Regions from separate parts of the Homo sapiens genome. Here regions 1, 2, 4 and 5 are each linked to region 3. The links are contacts of gene promoters, found by promoter capture Hi-C in blood cells and fetal thymus (Javierre and others, 2016). All regions are on one chromosome and are shown on one strand. Each heading gives the region's core, a stretch centred on a gene start or on the middle of the fragment in contact. The rest is flanking DNA. Distances are from core to core; before and after follow the strand shown. Region 1 overlaps LOC101928009 (a long non-coding RNA gene). Region 2 has its middle 26 kb from the start of PGLYRP3. Region 3 holds the start of LCE1F (late cornified envelope 1F). Region 4 has its middle 3.7 kb from the start of SPRR2G. Region 5 holds the start of SPRR2D (small proline rich protein 2D).

The links. The method cuts DNA at HindIII sites, captures the fragments that hold promoters and counts their contacts. A CHiCAGO score of 5 or more calls a contact.
Region 1: a fragment that was not itself captured here is called in contact with the fragment with the promoter of LCE1F in region 3 in 4 of 17 cell types (M1 macrophages, M0 macrophages, M2 macrophages and 1 more); the score reaches 9.2 in M1 macrophages.
Region 2: a contact is called between a fragment that was not itself captured here and the fragment with the promoter of LCE1F in region 3, in 3 of 17 cell types (endothelial precursors, M1 macrophages and M2 macrophages). The highest score is 6.8, in endothelial precursors.
Region 4: a fragment that was not itself captured here is called in contact with the fragment with the promoter of LCE1F in region 3 in 4 of 17 cell types (M1 macrophages, M2 macrophages, erythroblasts and 1 more); the score reaches 6.9 in M1 macrophages.
Region 5: a fragment that was not itself captured here is called in contact with the fragment with the promoter of LCE1F in region 3 in 2 of 17 cell types (M2 macrophages and M0 macrophages); the score reaches 6.5 in M2 macrophages.

Annotation. Positions count from the first base shown.
Region 1 is chr1:153,175,478-153,179,057 of GRCh38, forward strand. LOC101928009 (a long non-coding RNA gene) reads left to right here. Exons shown (of 3, transcript NR_110685.1): 2 at 636-1,163. It also overlaps a transcript of SPRR2G not described here. Among named protein-coding and RNA genes, the nearest start is that of LELP1, 26 kb to the right of the region's middle. The HindIII fragment of the contact is 5,568 bases long and covers 1-3,580 here.
Region 2 is chr1:153,284,578-153,288,402 of GRCh38, forward strand. No RefSeq gene overlaps it. Among named protein-coding and RNA genes, the nearest start is that of PGLYRP3, 26 kb to the right of the region's middle. The HindIII fragment of the contact is 2,378 bases long and covers 1,346-3,723 here.
Region 3 is chr1:152,773,514-152,777,130 of GRCh38, forward strand. It overlaps LCE1F (late cornified envelope 1F), which reads left to right and starts at 1,627. Exons shown (of 2, transcript NM_178354.3): 1 at 1,627-1,677; 2 at 2,837-3,511. The coding sequence starts at 2,859. The coding sequence ends at 3,215. The HindIII fragment of the contact is 9,364 bases long and covers 1-3,617 here.
Region 4 is chr1:153,152,694-153,156,473 of GRCh38, forward strand. It overlaps a transcript of SPRR2G not described here. Among named protein-coding and RNA genes, the nearest start is that of SPRR2G, 3.7 kb to the left of the region's middle. The HindIII fragment of the contact is 830 bases long and covers 1,356-2,185 here.
Region 5 is chr1:153,039,022-153,042,762 of GRCh38, forward strand. SPRR2D (small proline rich protein 2D) reads right to left here and starts at 2,099. Exons shown (of 2, transcript NM_006945.5): 1 at 2,057-2,099; 2 at 711-1,344. The coding sequence starts at 1,325. The coding sequence ends at 1,107. The HindIII fragment of the contact is 725 bases long and covers 1,841-2,565 here.

The sequences.
Region 1 (3,580 bases), core at 186-2,685, 400 kb after region 3:
CGTTCTTCCCTCCCAGCCTTCACACATGCTGCTCTCTCAGCCAGGAACTCTCCCTGATGGACTTTCATGTTCCATACAAGGTTCAGGCAAACTCTCATGGATTCTTTCAGATGAGGTTAGTTCCCTGTTTTATGCTTTTATAAATCTGAACAACTCCTTCATGACACATGTAACCATTATACTTAAGTAATTATCAAGGTAACCATTTGTTTTGTTTAATGTCTGTTATCCTTGCTGAATTTAAATTCCATGTGTTATTCACCACTGCTATATGCCCAGCACCTCACAGTTCCTAAGACATATGAGGCCTCAATAAATATTTCTTGGCCAGATGTGGTGGCTCACGCCTGTAATCCCAACACTTTGGGAGGCCAAGGCAGGTGGATCACCTGAGGGCGGTGAAACTCCGTCTCTACTAAAAATACAAAAATTAGCCAGATGTGGTGGTGCATGCCTATAATCCCAGCTACCCAGGAGGCTGAGACTGGAGAATTGCTGGAACCCCGGAGACAGAGGCTGCAGTGAGCCGAGATCATGCCACTGCACTCCAGCCTGGGTGACAGATCAAAACTCCATCTCAAAAAAAAAAATGTTGAATGGTTTTTACAGTCCGGTTCATTTCTCTTTCCTCCTAGAAATGAAGACTTGGCCATGCAAGCAAGGGGAGGTGAGACCTGATACTGCCAGAGAAGGAATAGGGCACTGTCAACTCGCTAACTGGGTCCTAGTATTGGCTATGTAACCCTAGACAAGTTACTTTACATTTCTAGACCTCAGTTCAGCAGTTGGAACACGTGGACTTTGGATTTTCTTCTTCCTGGAACTTCCTTTATGCACTCATGTTTGTTACTCACCCATGTATTTATCCATTGTCCATGTCTGCTTGTCAGTTTTAGTTACCTCCTACCCCCACCTGTCCAAGGTGCTCTTGTCCTCAGAAGATCCCACTGGCATGAATAAGACAGACTTGGAAACTTTTATCCTAGATAAAACTGGTCTGGAACACATAAAAAGTATTTCCCCAACAATTTTGATTCACTTCAATTCCTGAAATCTAACTTCTGACTTTCAAAGAAAATTCCACTTTGGCAGCTGTACAGGTACCAACAACAGTTTACCCTTACCTGGAAGAAGAGCCTTGGAGGAGAAAACACACCATGTCGGTATGGGTGTGACAAAGTCTACTTTTTCTAGCACTCCTGGGGCTCACAGAGAAGGCATTTATCAAGGGGCGAGATGAAAGCAGACTCAGATTTCATATAGCCAGTTCTTGCAGTCCATGTCAGTAAAAGTGAAAAAGCCCAGCAATAATGCATTGTCTCATTAAGGCTAATGTGAGTAAGATAATTCAAGTATGTAGATTTCTGGTAGTGTAATTTTATCTCAACAAAGAACTTAGAACAATGAGAAAAGTAAATAGAAACCATAATCCTATCATAACAGCCCCTGAAACCTGTGAGCGCAAGGGGGATCTAGAATATTTCCAATGCCCCCTTGCAGTTAGTTAATCCCCTCCCAAAGGCACTGTTCAGATTCCTCACCATAGGTTAGTTTTCCTTATTCTGCATTTCCCTGACTAATAGTGTTGTTAAGCACGTTTTAATATGATTTATATACATAGAATCATACAGAACGTACTCTGCTGTGTTTGGCTTATTTGCTAAACATAGTGTCTTGATACACATCAAATTCCTGCTTTTTTAATACTTTCTTAAGTTTTCTTAATGCTAGGCAGTATTTCATTGTATGAATTTTCCATAATTTATTGATTTACCTGCAGATGGACATTTAGGTTATTACAATTTGGGGCTATATGAACAAAGTTGTTACGAATATTTATGTACAAGTCTTTCGTGGACATGTTATTTCTCTTAAATGAATATTTAGGGGCAGAGCTTCTTGGTCATAGCATGGTTGTATGTTTAACTTTATAAGAAACCGCCAAATTGTTTTCTGCATTGATTGTGCCACCTTACATTCATACTAGCACTGTATGAGAGTTCCAGGGGCTCCACCTCCTTGCCACACTTGCTTTGTCATTAATTTTAATATTAGCCATTTTTGTGGGTCTGAAATGATATCTTATGGGGCTTTTTAACTGCATTTCCCTGACTGATAATATGGTTAAGGATTTCACATGCTTTTTGGTCATTTATACATTTTCACTTGAACATAAATGTAGGTCTATTTCTGAGTTCTTTATGCTTTTCATTTATCTATATGTGTATTCATACACCAAAACCACACATTCTTGATTGATGAGCATTTATAGTAAGTATTGAAACCAGATAGTGTGAGACCTACAACTTTGTTATTTTCCAAGATTGTTTAAACTTTTCTAGATTCTTTGAATTTCCATGTAAATTTTAAATTTGGTCCATTAAGTCCTCCAAAAAAAAAAGCCAGCTGGGATTTTTATTAGGATTGCAAGGAATAAATAGATCAATTTAAGAGGACTGATACATTCAAAATAGTGTGTTATCCAATATGTGAACCTATATCTCTTCATTTATTTGGATCCTGTCTAGTTTTTCTCCAGATTGTTTTATTATTTTCAGTGTAGCAGACTTACAAATTTTTGTTAAATATATTACTAACATTTTATCTTTTATGCTGTCATAAAGTTATTTCTAAATTTTATTTCCAATTGTGTGGTGATGGTTTATAGAAATATAATTGATTTCTATATATTGACCTTGTATTCTGTGGCCTTGATAAAGTTCCATATTAGTTCCAATACATATTTCTATAAGTTTCTTAGGAATTTCTGCATGGGCAATTATGCCATTTGTGAGTAAAGACATTTGTGCTTCTTCTTTCCAATCCATGCTTGTACTTATTTTTCTTACCTTATTGCACTGGCTGGAACTTCCAGGAAATGTTAGAATAGAAGTAGTAAATTGGGATATACTTGCCTTGTTTCTGATATTAGGGGAAAAATATTTCACAATTAATATAATGTTAGCCAAGGCTTTTCATAGATGACCTTCATCGCATAGAGAAAATTTCTTTCTATTCCTAGTTTGCAAGAGTTTTATCCTCAATGCATGTTGAATTTTGTCAAATGCTTTCTCTACATCTATTCAGATGATATAATTTCTTCCTTTATTCAGTTAATTTGGTGAATTACATTTATAATATTAAATAAACCTTGCATTCTGTGACAAATCCTCTTAATATATTGCTAGACTCAATTTACTGATATTTTCTTAAGGATTTTTGCTTCTATGCTCCTGAGGAATAACGATCTGTAACTTTCTTTTCATTTAATGTCCTTGTCAAGTTTCAATATCAGGGCTACGTTAACCTGAAAAAGACTTGGTGAATATTCCCTCTTTCTCTGTTTTATGAAAGAAATTATGTATGATTGAAATTTTTATTTCTTAAGTGTGTGGTATAATTCACCAGTTAATCCTTTTGGACCTGGGGCATTCTATATGGGAAGGTTTTAAACTATGGGTTTTATTTCTGTAATAATTTTAGAGATTGTCTCAGTCAGGGTACAATGAGAGGAACAGAACCAGTTGGAAATGTACTTCAGAGATTTACTACAAGGACTCAATTTATGTGATTGCAAAGG
Region 2 (3,825 bases), core at 1,285-3,784, 510 kb after region 3:
AAAATCATTGGGTGACCTATTTGAAAAAACTGAACCTAGACATAGACTTTACGCCTTTCACAAAAATGAACACAAATGATCATAGACGTAAATGTAAAATGTAAAACTATACAGCGTCTAGAAGAAAACATAGGAGGAAATCTAGGTAACCTTGGGTATGATAATGAGTTCTGAAATACAACACCAAAAGCACAATTCATGAAAGAAAAGTTAATAAATTGGACTTCATTAAAATTAATAACTTCTGCTCTGTACGTGGTAACGTTAAGAGAATGAAGAGACAAGCCATAGACTGGGAAAAATATTTGTAAAACACAATCTAATAAAGCACTTATATCCAAAATATGCAAAGATCTTTTAACACTCAACAATAAAAAAACAAACAACTTAATTACGAAACAGACAAAACATTTAAGCAGACATCTCACCAAATAAGAAATGCAGATGGCAAATAAACATATGAAAAGATGCTAAATATAATTTGTCATTAGGGAATTGCAAATTAAAATAACAATGAGATATTATTATACATCTATGAGAATGGTCAGGATCCAGAAAGCTGATAATACCAAATGCTGCTAAGGATGCGGAGCAACAGGAACTATCATTTGTTACTAGTGAATACAAAATGGTATAGCTCTTTGGGGAGATAGTTTGGAAGTTTTTTACAAAGTTAAACCTAGTCTTAGCACATGATCCAGTAATCATACTTCTAAGAATCTACCCAACTGATTTGAGAACTTAGGTCCACAAAAATGTGCAAGCAAATATTTATAACATTTGTGCCATTGACTAAAGGTGGTGCCATTTTCATCACATCATATCAAAGGGTACACACTATCACCATGACATCACTATTGGGTTGACCTTGATCATCTGGCAATGTAGCATTAGTCAGGTTTCTCCACTGTAAAGTTACTTTTATTCCCCCTTTGCACATGGCACTCTTTGGACGGAAGTCACATGTGCAATCCATACTTAAGGAGTGGGGAGTTACGTTCTACTTTCTTCAGGACAGAGGATCTACATAAATTATTTGCAATACTTTTTTCTCTTCTCTTCCATTTATTTATTTATTCAATTATTTGTTTATGTTGGTATGGAGTCATGGATGTTTATTTTATGCTCTAGGTTATAATCCAATACTAATTCATTTATGTTCTTGTTCAAATTGTTTGATTTTAGCTGTTAAGAACTCTTTCAGTTGGCTCTCATATTTTTTTATTTACCCCACCATTTTACTATTACTATTTTTGAGTAGTGCCTTACTTACTGGTACTATAAGAGGTTCCAAGCTTATATTGTATATTTCTTCCCAATCCTAGAGTCAGCCATTTCTCCAAGAAGCTTTGGTTTATTTCTTAGAGAATGGTACTAGAAACCAAGATCTGGCTACTAGGTGTGCTCATTGCTATCTCTGCACTCTTTCTCCCAAAATCCCATAACCCCATTCTCATCATGAGAAAAATTAGACAAATCCCAATTGAGGGACATTTTACAAAATGCCTGACCAGTAATCCTCAACATTGTCAAAGTCATCAAAAACAAAGGATGTCCCAGAAGCTGTCACAGCCAGGAGGAGCCTAAGAAGACATGATGACAAAATACCTGGTGACATCACTCAGGGAAAGCAAATGGAGAGGATCCTCATGATGGGGGAGGGAAAGGAGCCCTTAAGGAAAACAATGAAAAGACAAGAAGAAAGAAATCTGGAGGGTGTATTGCCACCAGAGCCACAGGAAATGAAAGGTTTCAAAAATATGTAAGAAAATAATCAGGTGTGTCAGATACAGTTAAGACTGTAAGAAGAGGAGTGAGTGACAACTGCCCCCTTGGACTTGGCTTTACGACGTCCTTAGGAAACCAAGTAAGAGCAATTTCAGTGGAGCAGCGCCAAGTGGGGGTAAGGGCATAAGTGTAGTGCAGAGTAAATGAGACGTGAGAAAGAGAATAATCTTTCTAGAGATGTGAGTGAGAAGAATAAAGAAGAGATTAGAAAGTAACTAGAGAGAGCAGTGGAGTTAAAACAGATTTATTTTTGTTGTTGTTTTGTCCAAATTGTTTCAGGATGAAAGAATCTTGAGTATCTTTATAAACTGTGAGCATGAAGAGAGAGAGTATGTGAAGATGCATTCAATATATTCATTCTACAAATATTTTTTTGATTCTTACTATGTACAAGAACTAGAAAACAAAACAGCTGAAAATCCCTACCCTCCACAGAGCTGACATTCTAGTTGGGGGAGATAAACAAGATAAATGGGTAAATACATTGTATGAAAGAGGGTGCAATAAAGCAAAGAAAGGAGACAGTGCTGGCAGGAAGGGGTGTTGCAGTTGTGGGTGGGGTGACCAGGAAAAGCCTCATTGAGAAAGTGGCACTTGAGTAAAAGCCTGAAGGATATGAGAGAGAGGGCTATGTGAGTATCTGAGGGAAAAGCACTGCAGGCAGAGGGAACAGCAAAGCTAAGACCCTGAGGCAGAAGCCTGCCTGGGATGGTCAAGGAACACCAAAGAGGCCAGTGAGGCTAGAGCAGTGAGAGAAAGAAGAGTAGAATGTGTGGTCAGAGACAAAATGAGAAGCTGGATCATGTAGGACCTTTTAGGTCTTGGTAACAACCTTGGCTCTTACTGCGAGTGACATGGGGAGCCATCAGAGGGTCTTGAGCTGAGGAAAGACAGGATCTGACATGGATTTTAACCAGATCTCTCTGTCTTCTGTGTTGAGAATAGACTTAAGGGCTGAAGGACGTCAGAATCAGAGGGACCGATTAAGAGGCTATTGCAGCACTTCAGGTAAAGGTGACTTGAACCAGAGTGGTAGCAAGAGAGGGGCTGAGAAGTGGCTGAAATAATATATTTTTAAGGCAGAGCCAGCCAGATGAGGAGAATGGGAGGAAAGAAGAAGTCAGTGGTGACCCAAGGTTTTTGTCATTTGGCTACAGATCATGAAGCTCCATGCAGGCTCCATAGCATGAATCAAGCATAAGAGTCCTTCCACATCTCACCCTTGGCTTACTATATGAACACCACACTGTTACCAACATGCCTGGTTCAGTATTAGGGTGGTGTGCCCAAAGTTCACTTGGAGAGCTAAGGGCAGGCTCAGGGTCAGTTGGCCACAATACCAGGCCTGAGAGTGGAAGTGCCATTTACTGAGGTGAGGAAGACTGTGGTAGGAGAGCTTTTGAGGCAAGATCAAGAGTTTGGCTTTGGGCATGAATTAGATGTTCTATGACACACACACATTGAGAGATAAATACATGGCAGAATTTGAACCTGTATTAAAGAAAAATGTGGTCGGGTGCAGTGGCTCACGCCTATAATTGCAGCACTTTGGGAGGCCGAGGTGGGCAGATCACCTGAGGTCAGGAGATAAGAGACCAGCCTGATCAACAATGTGAAACCCCATCTGTACTAAAAATACAAAAATTAGCCAGGCGTGGTGGTGGGCACCTGTAATCCCAGCTATTCAGGAGGCTGAGGCAGGAGAATCGCTTGAACCCGGGAGACGGAGGTTGCAGTGAGCTAAGATCGCACCACTGCACTCCAGCCTGGGAGACAGAGAGAGACTCTGTCTCAAAAAAAAAAAAAAAGTTTCCACTGTAAATATAAATTTAGGAGGTAAAAGTGATGAGTTTAAAAAGAGAGCTCAAGGAATGTGAACAGGATGGGATGGAAGGAAGGAGTGAAAAGTTGACCCTCTGAAGCTGATGTCAAGGAAGCTTTGGGAATGTGGTTGCAAGAACATTTGCAAGGTTGCAAGAAGTGGACAGAGATCCTGCCAGATGGCCTCAATTTTCTCTGCTGAGTGGTAGGGGGTTG
Region 3 (3,617 bases), core at 377-2,876:
TTGTTCTTTTGGCTTAGGATTGACTTGGCAATGAGGGCTCTTTTTTGGTTCCATATGAACTTTAAAGTAGTTTTCTCCAATTCTGTGAAGAAAGTCATTGGTAGCTTGATGGGGATGGCGTTGAATCTATAAATTACCTTGGGCAGTATGGCCATTTTCACGATATTGATTCTTCCTACCCATGAGCATGGAATGTTCTTCCATTTGTTTGTATCCTCTTTTATTTCCTTGGGCAGTGGTTTGTAGTTCTCTTCCTGAAACTCTAAATACATGGGTGCTAGAATGTTTGATATTATTCCACTGGTCACTGATCATCTGTTCATTTTTTTAATATTTTTCCCTTTCTTCAGTTCAGTTTGAACAATTTCTTCAAGTTCACCGATCTGTTCTTCTGCAACTTATAATCTGCTAAAACCATCCAATAATTCTTTGATGTTATATGTAATTTTGACCATATTTATTTTTCAAATATTGGTTTTTTATTGTTAGATTTTGCATTTGGTTAGTTTTGAGCATGGGAAACTGGGAAATTAAACCCAGGAAATGTGTATTGCAACAAAGCCAATAATTTCAAATTAAATATTGACTATGTCTATTCTTGTCTATACCAACTACACCACTCCAAGTCACAGTTCAAAGCCACCTCATTGGCTGTTCTCTTCTCTTCACCCTTCTCATCTTTATTTTACCTCATCCCTTCAGCTTTTCCTCAGGAAACTGCAAATTCTTTTATGCTATAATTTGGGGCAATATACATCCTTTAGTCCTCTTTTCTTATACCCACTCTGGATCTACCTTCAGAAAGCCCTATTCACTGAGGTACGTAGGAGGAAAAAAAAATGGCCTTTAGTTTTAATAAGAGCCACCTAACTTAAAAGGCACCTGTGACTTTAAAAATTCCCAATGTCCATTAAAATCTCAGGTTTGCCTCTATTTTTCTTTCTATCTATCTATCTATCTATCTATCTATCTATCTATCTACCTATTCATCCATTTCCTAATTATAACCACATGCCACATACTATCTCAGCTACTTCCCCTTTGTTATCTTAATTAATTTGTAAATCCTGCAGAAAAGATATTTCTCTTATTATCTTCATTTAAAACATCAGAAAGCCAATGGCCAAAAATATTGAATACTTTGCCAGGGTCTCCAAGGCCTCTTTTCTCGACTTCTATGATGCACACACATGCCCATGTGCACATGGACAAACCCCATAATGCAGGCATGTGGATTTTTAACCAAGCTATATGGACCCAAAGGTCTAGATGGAAAATTAGTATCTAGAATAGAAGGAAAAATGAGTTGTTTGTGCAGAATTCATAAGTGTGACTACAAGACTGTGAAGAGAGCCATCTTCATAGGAAATAGGCCACGGAGGACTCCAGGAACCATGATGTCCATTTTCACCCACCACAAGCCCCCATTTCCACCAAGCTCTTTCCTAGCTGACAGCAGCTCCCCTGAACACCAATGAAGGACGGTATATGCAGAACTGCCAGTCACCACTCGTCACAAGACCTATGTGGGTGTCGGGAGGCAGGTCCTCTCATGCCCAGGCTCTGTCTCACCGCTGGAGGCAGCACCCAAGGACAGAATAAAAGGGCTCAGGGCCAGAGCATCCCATCCACTCACCTCCTGCGGTGCTGAAGAACCCTGTGCTGCCTGTGATCCTGGTAAGTGTGCCCTGGAAAAAGGAGCAGGGGCTTCCACAGAGGGATGCCCAGGCCAGGGAAGGAGGGGATGGATACTCAGACCAGGGCAGGAGTAGAGTCTAGGCAGGGCCTCAGGGGCCTGGAATTGTGATTGGCAAGGAATGGGGTGGGGGCAGAAAATTGGAAAGAGGAGGTAGAGGGGTGGGGTGGAGTGAGAGAGATTAAGAAGAACTGGTAAGATCTGAAGGGCTGTATGACACAGATTTAGAGGAACCAAATTGTTTTCAGTTGCTCAGTGTGTTTCTCTGGTTTTAGAGAATAAACACATTGGCCACTGGATGTTGCTAGAGTGGGCTGCATAGTGGGAATATAATTTTGGAAATACAGACATACTCACTTTTAGAAAAGATATGCTGAGAACACTGCTACTTAGAGGAAGAAAGGATCAAAGACACCTGTGGATCTTGTTAGATGCCAACAAGAAGATCTGTAGTGGAAAACTGAGTGCACACTGGAGTTTAAAAGCCATGTGACAGTGCCTGGGGACAGGCCTGGGGAGGCAGGATGTGCTAAAGGGCAGAGCCCAGGATGGGAACCAGGGGACCCCGGAACAAATGTGACTGTTAATGAATAACTTTGGGCCAGTGAAGTTACCTCTTTTGGCTTCAGTTTCTTTATTTATATATTGAGTTGGTTGGAACAAATTGACTCCAACATCCTTTGCGGTTATAGTTTTCTCTATTTCTGCAAACTGAAATATATCAGTTCTTCCAATAGAAATTTATTTTGATTTTTCCTTAAAGAGATTTTCATCTCTAAACTGGTCTCAACATTGAACATTTTCAGAATTCTTGGTGATGTGATAGAATGAATGCTGGCCCGGAGCCAATTTATTTCCTGGACTTCTCTCCCACACTTAGGAGCTTTTAATGAGCAGAAACTTTATTTACATATTTGGAGATTATATATTGCATGACAACATCTCAAATAAGGTTTGAAATGAGAATCCATGAATGAAAGCACTTGGTAAACATTGAGAGTGATAAAAACATTAGAGGTGATTTTCCTATGTTTGATATAAGGCTTTCAAAATGAAGGATCTAGAAATAATGCAGAAAGGACAAGAATAGGCAGGGGTGTCCTCTGCCTCCATCTAACTTGCTGTCTGACCCTCCTTCAGCTCCTGAACACCCGCCACCGAGATGTCTTGCCAGCAGAGCCAGCAGCAGTGCCAGCCCCCTCCCAAGTGCACTCCCAAGTGCCCTCCCAAGTGCCCCACACCGAAGTGCCCCCCAAAGTGTCCCCCTAAGTGCCCTCCTGTCTCTTCCTGCTGCAGCGTCAGCTCCGGAGGCTGCTGTGGCTCCAGCTCTGGGGGCTGCTGCAGCTCTGGGGGTGGTGGCTGCTGCAGCTCTGGGGGAGGCGGCTGTTGCCTGAGCCACCACAGACGGCGTAGGTCCCACCGCCACAGACCCCAGAGCTCTGACTGCTGCAGCCAGCCCTCAGCGGGCTCCAGCTGCTGCGGAGGGGGCAGTGGCCAGCACTCTGGAGGCTGCTGCTGAAGTGGACCCTGTGCCTAAAAGAGCAGATTTAGAGGCATGAAAGGGGCAACTTCATCTTCCTTGGGACTGACTGTGTTGCTGGGACATTTTAGTAAAGATTTCAAACTCTGTCCTGGAAGATTCCTCCGACCTAGAATCCAGAAATCTGCCCTCTCACAAGAATTCCTCTTCTGACCTCTGATTCCATCTGTGCGCCTGGCCTGGGAATACCAAATAGAAGTCCTTGCCTCATTCCCCTGATTTCCTTGGCAATCTCCATTGTGCATGAAACAATAAAACAAATAATCTGCTCATCACCTTTTTCTAGACTGCATTACTCTTGCTTGTAAATGTGAACAGAGGGATAAGCATGTCTTATCTCAGCTCCATCACCCGGTTATCTGGGCCTTGAAGCAGCATGGC
Region 4 (3,780 bases), core at 521-3,020, 380 kb after region 3:
GTGAGGCACTTTCACAGCGTTCTTTCTCATGTTGAAATCCTAGGAACCATAGCTGATGCATGCTGAAGAATTAGCTAAGGATTACGTGACTTAAAACAGTTCTATCAACACAATTTTAGACCTACTTTTCTTTGCCTCATGAATTACTAATAGATTCCAAAGTTATTTTTACCAATAAATTATTTGGTTTATCATTTATGCTTGATAAACTGAAGGAGGATTGGGCTTTTCAGAAAAGAATGCTTAATGAGGTTTGCCAGCTTCACAAAGGACAGTTTTTTTATAGAGAGAGAAAATAGCTAAAGGACAGATGATCCTCATTTTTCACAAATAATGGGCACTTGAAGCACTCTGTGCAAATTAAACCTCTGAAACTCACATAGTATCTACATGAGGGTTTGCTGGAGTTTACTTATAAACTAGTAACCGTGGTTATCTCAGGAGAATAGTTAAGTATCTAGGGAATAGGAGTGGGGGAGAGACTAACTTTTCACTGCATGACCATTTTCTTCTCTTTTGAATTTTGGTATCATGTATATTTTTTGCTTATTCAAAGTGTTTAAATATTTAAATGTTCAAAGATATTTTAAAATTGAAATAAATAAATCTGTGAGTAAATACTATGTTAGCAAACTGGCACTGTATAAACACAATGATTGAGTTAAGTCCTAATTAGGTGTGTAAATTTGAGCAATTTTCTTAACATTTCTGCAATTTTCAGTTTCTTCATTGAGAAATGGTAATAATAATACTTCTCTGACGGACATTTTTGTAAGGTGCAAATAAAATAAATAGTAAGCCTAGTAAAACAACCGTGTAAAGCTGGGAATTATGAGGCTGAATTACCTGGTCCCAAAGTTCCTGATTTGCCTAAAGATTTTGAAAAGAAGGACAAAGCTATTTTATGGGAGTCCCAGAAATGAAGAAACGAAGGAAGGTAGAGAGGGTAGAAGACAGGCGAGTGGAAAGAAGAGGAAAGGGGAAAGAGAGAGAGGATGACATTTCCCAAGGGCCATTTGATTTTACTTGATTTAACATTTATAGCCTAGTTCTTTAAGCTCCCAATAAAATTATTTCTATTTTAATAAATAAAGATATGCTGCTACTACATAATATGCCTTTAAGTTTTTGAGAATATAGAATTTAAAAATAATAGAATTAGAAATGAACAGAGATGGCAAGAGTGAGTGTCCTTGCTTTGCTCCTGATCTTAGAGGAAAAGCTTTTAATTTTTCACCCTCGAATATATTAGCTGTGGGTTACTCACATATGGCCTTTATTATGTTGAGATACATTTCTTCTATACCTAATTCGTTGAGTGTTTTAATCATGAAAAGATGTTGTATTTTGTGGAAAGCTTTATCTGCCTCTATTTAGATTATCATACAATTTGTATCCTTTATTCTGTTTATGTAGTGTATCACATTTATTGATTTGCCTACACTGAACCATCTTTTTTTTTTTTTAGAAAAGAAAGAAATTTATTGAACCATCCATCCTTGCATCTCAGGGATAAATCCCACTTGATCATGTTGCATTATTCTTTTAATGGACTACTAGGTATGCTAGTATTTTGTTGAATCTTTTTGCTTCTATATTCATCAGGGATGTTGGCCTGTAATTTTTTTATAATGTTCTTATCTGGCTTTGGTATCAGGGTAATGCCATCCTCATACAATGAATTTGGAAGTGGTCTCTCCTCAATTTTTGGAAAAGTTTAATAATAATTTATTAATACATTAGTTATTTAAATGTTTGGTAGAGTTTACTACTGTAGCCATGTGGTCCTGGATTTTTCTTTGATCACAGTATTTATATTGCTGATTTAATCTCCTTACTCGTTATTGGTCTGTCCAGATTTTCTATTTCTTCATGATTCAGTCTCAGTAGGTTGCATGTTTCTAGTAATTTATCAATTTCTTCTAGGTTATCCAATTTATTGCTATATAGTTGTTCATAAGCAGTCTCTTAGGATCTTTTTTATATCCATGGCATCAGTTTTCATATCTCCTCTTTCATATTTGATTTTATTAATTTGAATCTTCTCTCCTTTTTTCTTTATTAGTCTAGCTAGAGGTTTGTCAAATGAGTCATCTACAACTGCTGTCTCTTCTGTCCCACATCTCACTAACCCCTCAACCCATGGCAGTCTGGATTTAGCCCACCATCTACTGAAATTATTCCAAGCTTTCTGTCAGATAAACTGAGTCATTCTCCGTTTTTATCTTCCTAGACTTCTCTGCTACATGTCACAGTGCCAATCATTCCATCTTTCTCTAGAGTCTCTACTTACTGGTTTTCATAATATCCACTTAATATTCTCCTACTCCTGTGCTTAATCTTTCTCCTCCTTGATCTGAACCTCTTCTTCTAAATGCCAAATGGAGTCCTCTGGTGCTCATTCCATGGATCTTACCATCCTATGCATTCTCTAGTTACAATATCAATGATTCCTATGGTTTCAGTCATCACAAATCTACTAACTCACTCATCTACATTTGCACTCCAGAACTCACTTCAAACTTAAATATCCCCTTGCCCTCTAGATATCTCTGTCCAAATATCCTCAAGTACCAACAAGCTGATCATCTTTCCCACAAACCACTTGAACCTCCAGTATTCTCTATCCTGTACACCAATAATCACCCAGCTACTTGAGTTACCTTGACATTTTCGCCTCTACTACATGCTACTTATCTAAACTCCTCATTCTGACAGTTCAACAGCATAAGTATCTCTGGAATCCATCTCTCTCCTTCTATGCTGACTGCCATGCCCTAGTTCAGAGCCTCCTCATCTCTTGCTCGATTATTACCATAGCTTCCTAATATAGCTGTCTTCCTCTATCTTGTTTGATTTAAATCCATCTTTCCATTGCCATAAGAGTGATACATTAAAAAGTAAAATCTGACTACATCACTTGCATGCTTAAAATACTTTAAGTTCTAGGTCCATTACATAGCCCTTCCTTCGCCTCTAGCCTCATTCCTTATTACTCCACTTTTTGAACTGTGTGCTGTCATGTATCAAACTCTGTAATTTTGCTGACATACCAGTTTTTTCTATCCTCAGTGAATTTATTTACTAACCTGTAATATGCCATATTATTATTGTTTTACCGGGTTAATGTCTACACAATTCTCTAAAAGCCATCACTTCAATGAAAAGCCTTCCTGGATCCCTCCTATTAGGGCAGGTGACCCTACCTAAGAGTCCCATAAAACACTCTGAGCTTTGCATTAAGTGTTAAGTGCAACCCATCTGCATTAAGTGGATTCCCCACCCATATCCTTTTCCCTTGAGCTTGCGAGCACTTTGAGTAGTCAGACTGCAACTTCACCTACACTCAGGACATGATCCAATACCTGAAACAGAGTACGTGCTAGATAAATAGTTGTTAAAAAAATAATGATTTTAGTTTCTAAATTGTGTTGCCTTACATGAGTGTCACAACAATCTTGTGAGTTCTGAGGGAAAGAATATGCTATTACCTCTGTGACTAGAAAAAAATAACATTTAATATTCTACTGAATTACTCTGTGATTTCATGATTTTCCAGACATCTCATCTTTCCACTACATTAGCCCTGCCAAAATCCACACACCTACCTATAGCAATTGGAATTACAGATAATAGAGCCTTGACTATTTAGATTTGGGGCTCCTATATTTGGATACTCCATGACAATTTGTTCCAATGCATGTGATTGCTGAATAACTTTGTAAACACCATGTATCTTGCCAATGGATTACAAAAGGAATTGTCTAAAGAATTTTAAGA
Region 5 (3,741 bases), core at 953-3,452, 270 kb after region 3:
TTTCCGCAATGGCTGTACAGGTGGTATTAGGTTTTCTGTTTCTGATTTTGTTGGCTTAGCATAATGGCCTCCAGTTTGATCCACTTTGCTACAAAAGACATGATCTAATTTTTTTATAGCTGTGTAGAATTCATGGCGTATATTTATCACATTTTTAAAATCCACTCTACTATTGATGGGCTTTTGGGTTGATTCTATGCCTTTGCTATAGTGAACACGGCTGCGATAAATATACACATGCATGTGTCTTTATGGTAGAATGATTTATATTCCTTTGGGTATATACCCAATAGTGAGACTGCTGGGTCAAATAATAGTTCTGTTTTAATGATGATGTACTGCTGCTAATAGACTACTATCAAATGAGTAGTAATGATATGTCAGAAATTGTGTCAACTGAATTCCTGATATTAATTCCATTTTATGCCTAAGATAAGTTAGTGATATAAATATTATTTTCCACATTTTAAAATGAAGAGATTAAAATTCTGATTGATTTGTTCTTCAAATCAATCAAACACTAATTAAGGAAAATAAAAGGGGTTTAAAATGATATAAAAATAATCATTGTTATGGCCCAAAATTCAGATAACAATAATTGTGAAATCCTGGTCCTGGGGATCAGAGAAAGGTAGAACAAAATCCAAATAATCATATAATATTACTAATAAAGCAGATTCTAAAAGAAACAAAAGATCCATTCACAAATATATATGCATAGATACTTTATTCAGGGAGTGAAAGATAAATGACAATTGCAAAGGTGGTAGAAGCTCATGACCAGGTGACAGACAGACACAGAACACATCAACAGAATTGTCTGATGGTTCCCAGGGAGAGAGCTGCTGCTCTTTCTTCCGAAGCTCTGGGAGCTGGCACAGCTGAGGACTTCCTTTTCTTAGCTCCACCTGGACAGTGGCAGTATGGCAGCCTCAGAAAGGGAATCTTTTGCTGTCACAGATCATCACAGGCAGGCCACAGGTTAAGGAGAAAGAAGCTCCCTGTGCATCCATGGAAGGCTTTGGTGAGAAGATGCAAGTGGAGCTGTGGAACGAGGTGAGCCAATTATCCTTATCCTCTCATGCTCCTGATGAATCCTGAAGCTGTTACTTGCTCTTGGGTGGACACTTTGGCTGGCAGGGTGGGGAAGGTGTCACAGGAGGATATTTCTGCTGGCACTGCTGAGGTGGGCAGGGCTGTGGACACTTTGGTGATGGGCAGGGCTCAGGGCACTTCGGGGGTGGACATGGCTCTGGGCACTTTGGCGTGGGGCACACAGGAGGTGGCTGGCAGGGCTGCTTGCACTGCTGCTGTTGATAAGACATCCTGCTGGAGTCTCAGGATCTGAAAGAAATGATACAACAGTGTTTGTGGGAAGGGACTCCTCCAGAGAGAGAAGCTAATGCTTATGTAATACCATGAAATATTATTTCCCCATCTCCAAGAAATTATTTAAACTCTTAACTGCCTTTTCAAGACTACTTCGTTTCTCCCTTCCACTTTAGCAAATTGCTTCATTGGCCCTGGGAAATCTTGTGTTTTCTCATACAATTTTTCCAAAGAAAATATCTCTGTAGTAATGAACCAAGCATGTTATTTCTGTGAAAATAACATCTTTAGGAAAGGCAGTGACAAGTTCAGATACCATGAGCAATCTCACAAGCCATTTCTCTTATCATTATCTGTAGTAAAGTCCCAGTGGGTTGACTTGAGCACAGAACAAAGGGCTGTTTGGGAAGGATTGCAGGCTCTTGGCACCTGTTAAGACACAAACCTTTGAAAAAGACACCAGGAAAACATGGGGAAAAAATACTTTGTTCTTTTTTCTTCTTCAATTCAAAGCTTTCCTATTAACTTCTCTGTCCGTATGGACACCTAACTGTATACAAGAAACAAGCTAAAATAGCATATCACTGTACTCTAAATCTAAATTTCCATCTACTAAGTAGAATCAAACCCATGGTTACAGAATTGTATCAACCAAACTTGCTGTTTTCAGATTAAATTCAATATTTCAGGTCACAAAGAACTGAGGAACTCAAGGACTCACACTCACCAGGTTCTCCAAAGCAGATCGGTGCTAGAGTACCAGGAGTTTAAGAGTTGTGCAGCAGGGAACCTCTTTATAGGACGTTCTGCCCCACCCAGTGGGAAGTGGAACTGCCTAAAACTGGGCTGGTCCAGCAATGTCCAAAGTAAAATGCAAATGTATCCATATCTGGCATGAGAGGCATTCTCAAACTAGGAAATATCCTGTTCTGGGATCTCCCCACTGGGTTAAGTGCTCATGAGTCACAGAGAACCTGCCTTAGATCTCAGTTTCAGTGACTTTCGTCAGAGAGATAATTGGAGGGATTCTCTAACCGGTTGTCAAGGGCTCTCTTTCTTGATTGGGAACAATGATCCCTTCCTATCTTACCTCCCCTGAGTCATAAAACTTCCTGTCCTGATCCACTCTAGCTGAATGCCATATTGTTGTACATGAACCCAACTCTACCTCTACTTTCCTCATACAGTTGGCCAATGTGCTAGAAGGAAGGAGAGACTTAACAAAGGCCTGAGCTAAGCTTTTTCTTTGCTAAGTTCCATGACAACAGGCATGTCACCTCTCCTCCCTGGGATTATAAACAGGGGACAATAATACTTACCTCTGGGTTTGCAGGCTGACCACATTGTGCTATCTGCTGACCCTGTTCAAGACTGAAATTTTCTTTGCCACCTTTTTCTCAGATAAAACCTCAGATTTTTACCTATATTCCTTTCCTCTTTGAAGCTGTCTTCTGCACCACATTTGTAGCTTCTGCACCACATTCGTAGAGGCACTTGCATCCCAGGACAGATTTGAGAGTGAGATCTAGTCTCCACAGCACGTTTGCTACTTGGTGCCATCAAGGATGTGTACTACAGCCTTTTTATTTATAAAAAGTAATGGAGAGAAGGAAACTAAAGTTACAAGTATTGACTCAAAATCTATGTATGGAACCATGCATATATGGTTCCCTGTGAACATCCTATAGAGAACAAGCTGCATAGACATTATCATATGTAAATAATTAGAAGTAGGTGTGCAGAGTGAGGAAGGTAAGAGCACTTAAAGTTTAACTCAAGGGGAAAATACAAACAAAGGGTAATCCAATATGTATTCTTCCTCTCTATTTCCAAACAGGTTTTAGATGTTTCTCAGTGTTTTTTAATTTGTTTGCATGTTCTTCCTTTGTCTTTTCCATAAACCTTCTAGTCCCACAAACTGCTAGATTATCAACTCATACCCAATGTATACCTGTCATCTGTCCATTTTGGTACATATTGTTCACTTAACACATATGTTGTCAATGCATTTAGTGATTGTCCTTTCACAACTTTTTTAAATGCTTCCTACAATCAGTGAGCCTTTCTAAGTACTGTATATTAAACATTTAAAGTGATGTTGCTACTGCTTCCTTATCTGGACCATTAATCGGGAAGCTTCCCAAGAACATGGTTTTATAAGTGAATAAGAAGAAAGGAGAATGAGGAAGAGGAAAGACTCAAAATCACTGGAGCAGTCACCAACTGTGCTCCAGGAAGGGCAGAGTGTTGAATCAAGCCAGCATCACATCCCTCAGTTAAGTAGGTTAGGTTCCCAGAACAGCTGTTGCTCCTGTCAGTAAGGAAGAGCTTTTAGCCAAGATCACCACTGGCCAGGACACTACAGAAATAGAGCCATCATGTCAGCACCCTGAGGCCAGGTGATTACAAATG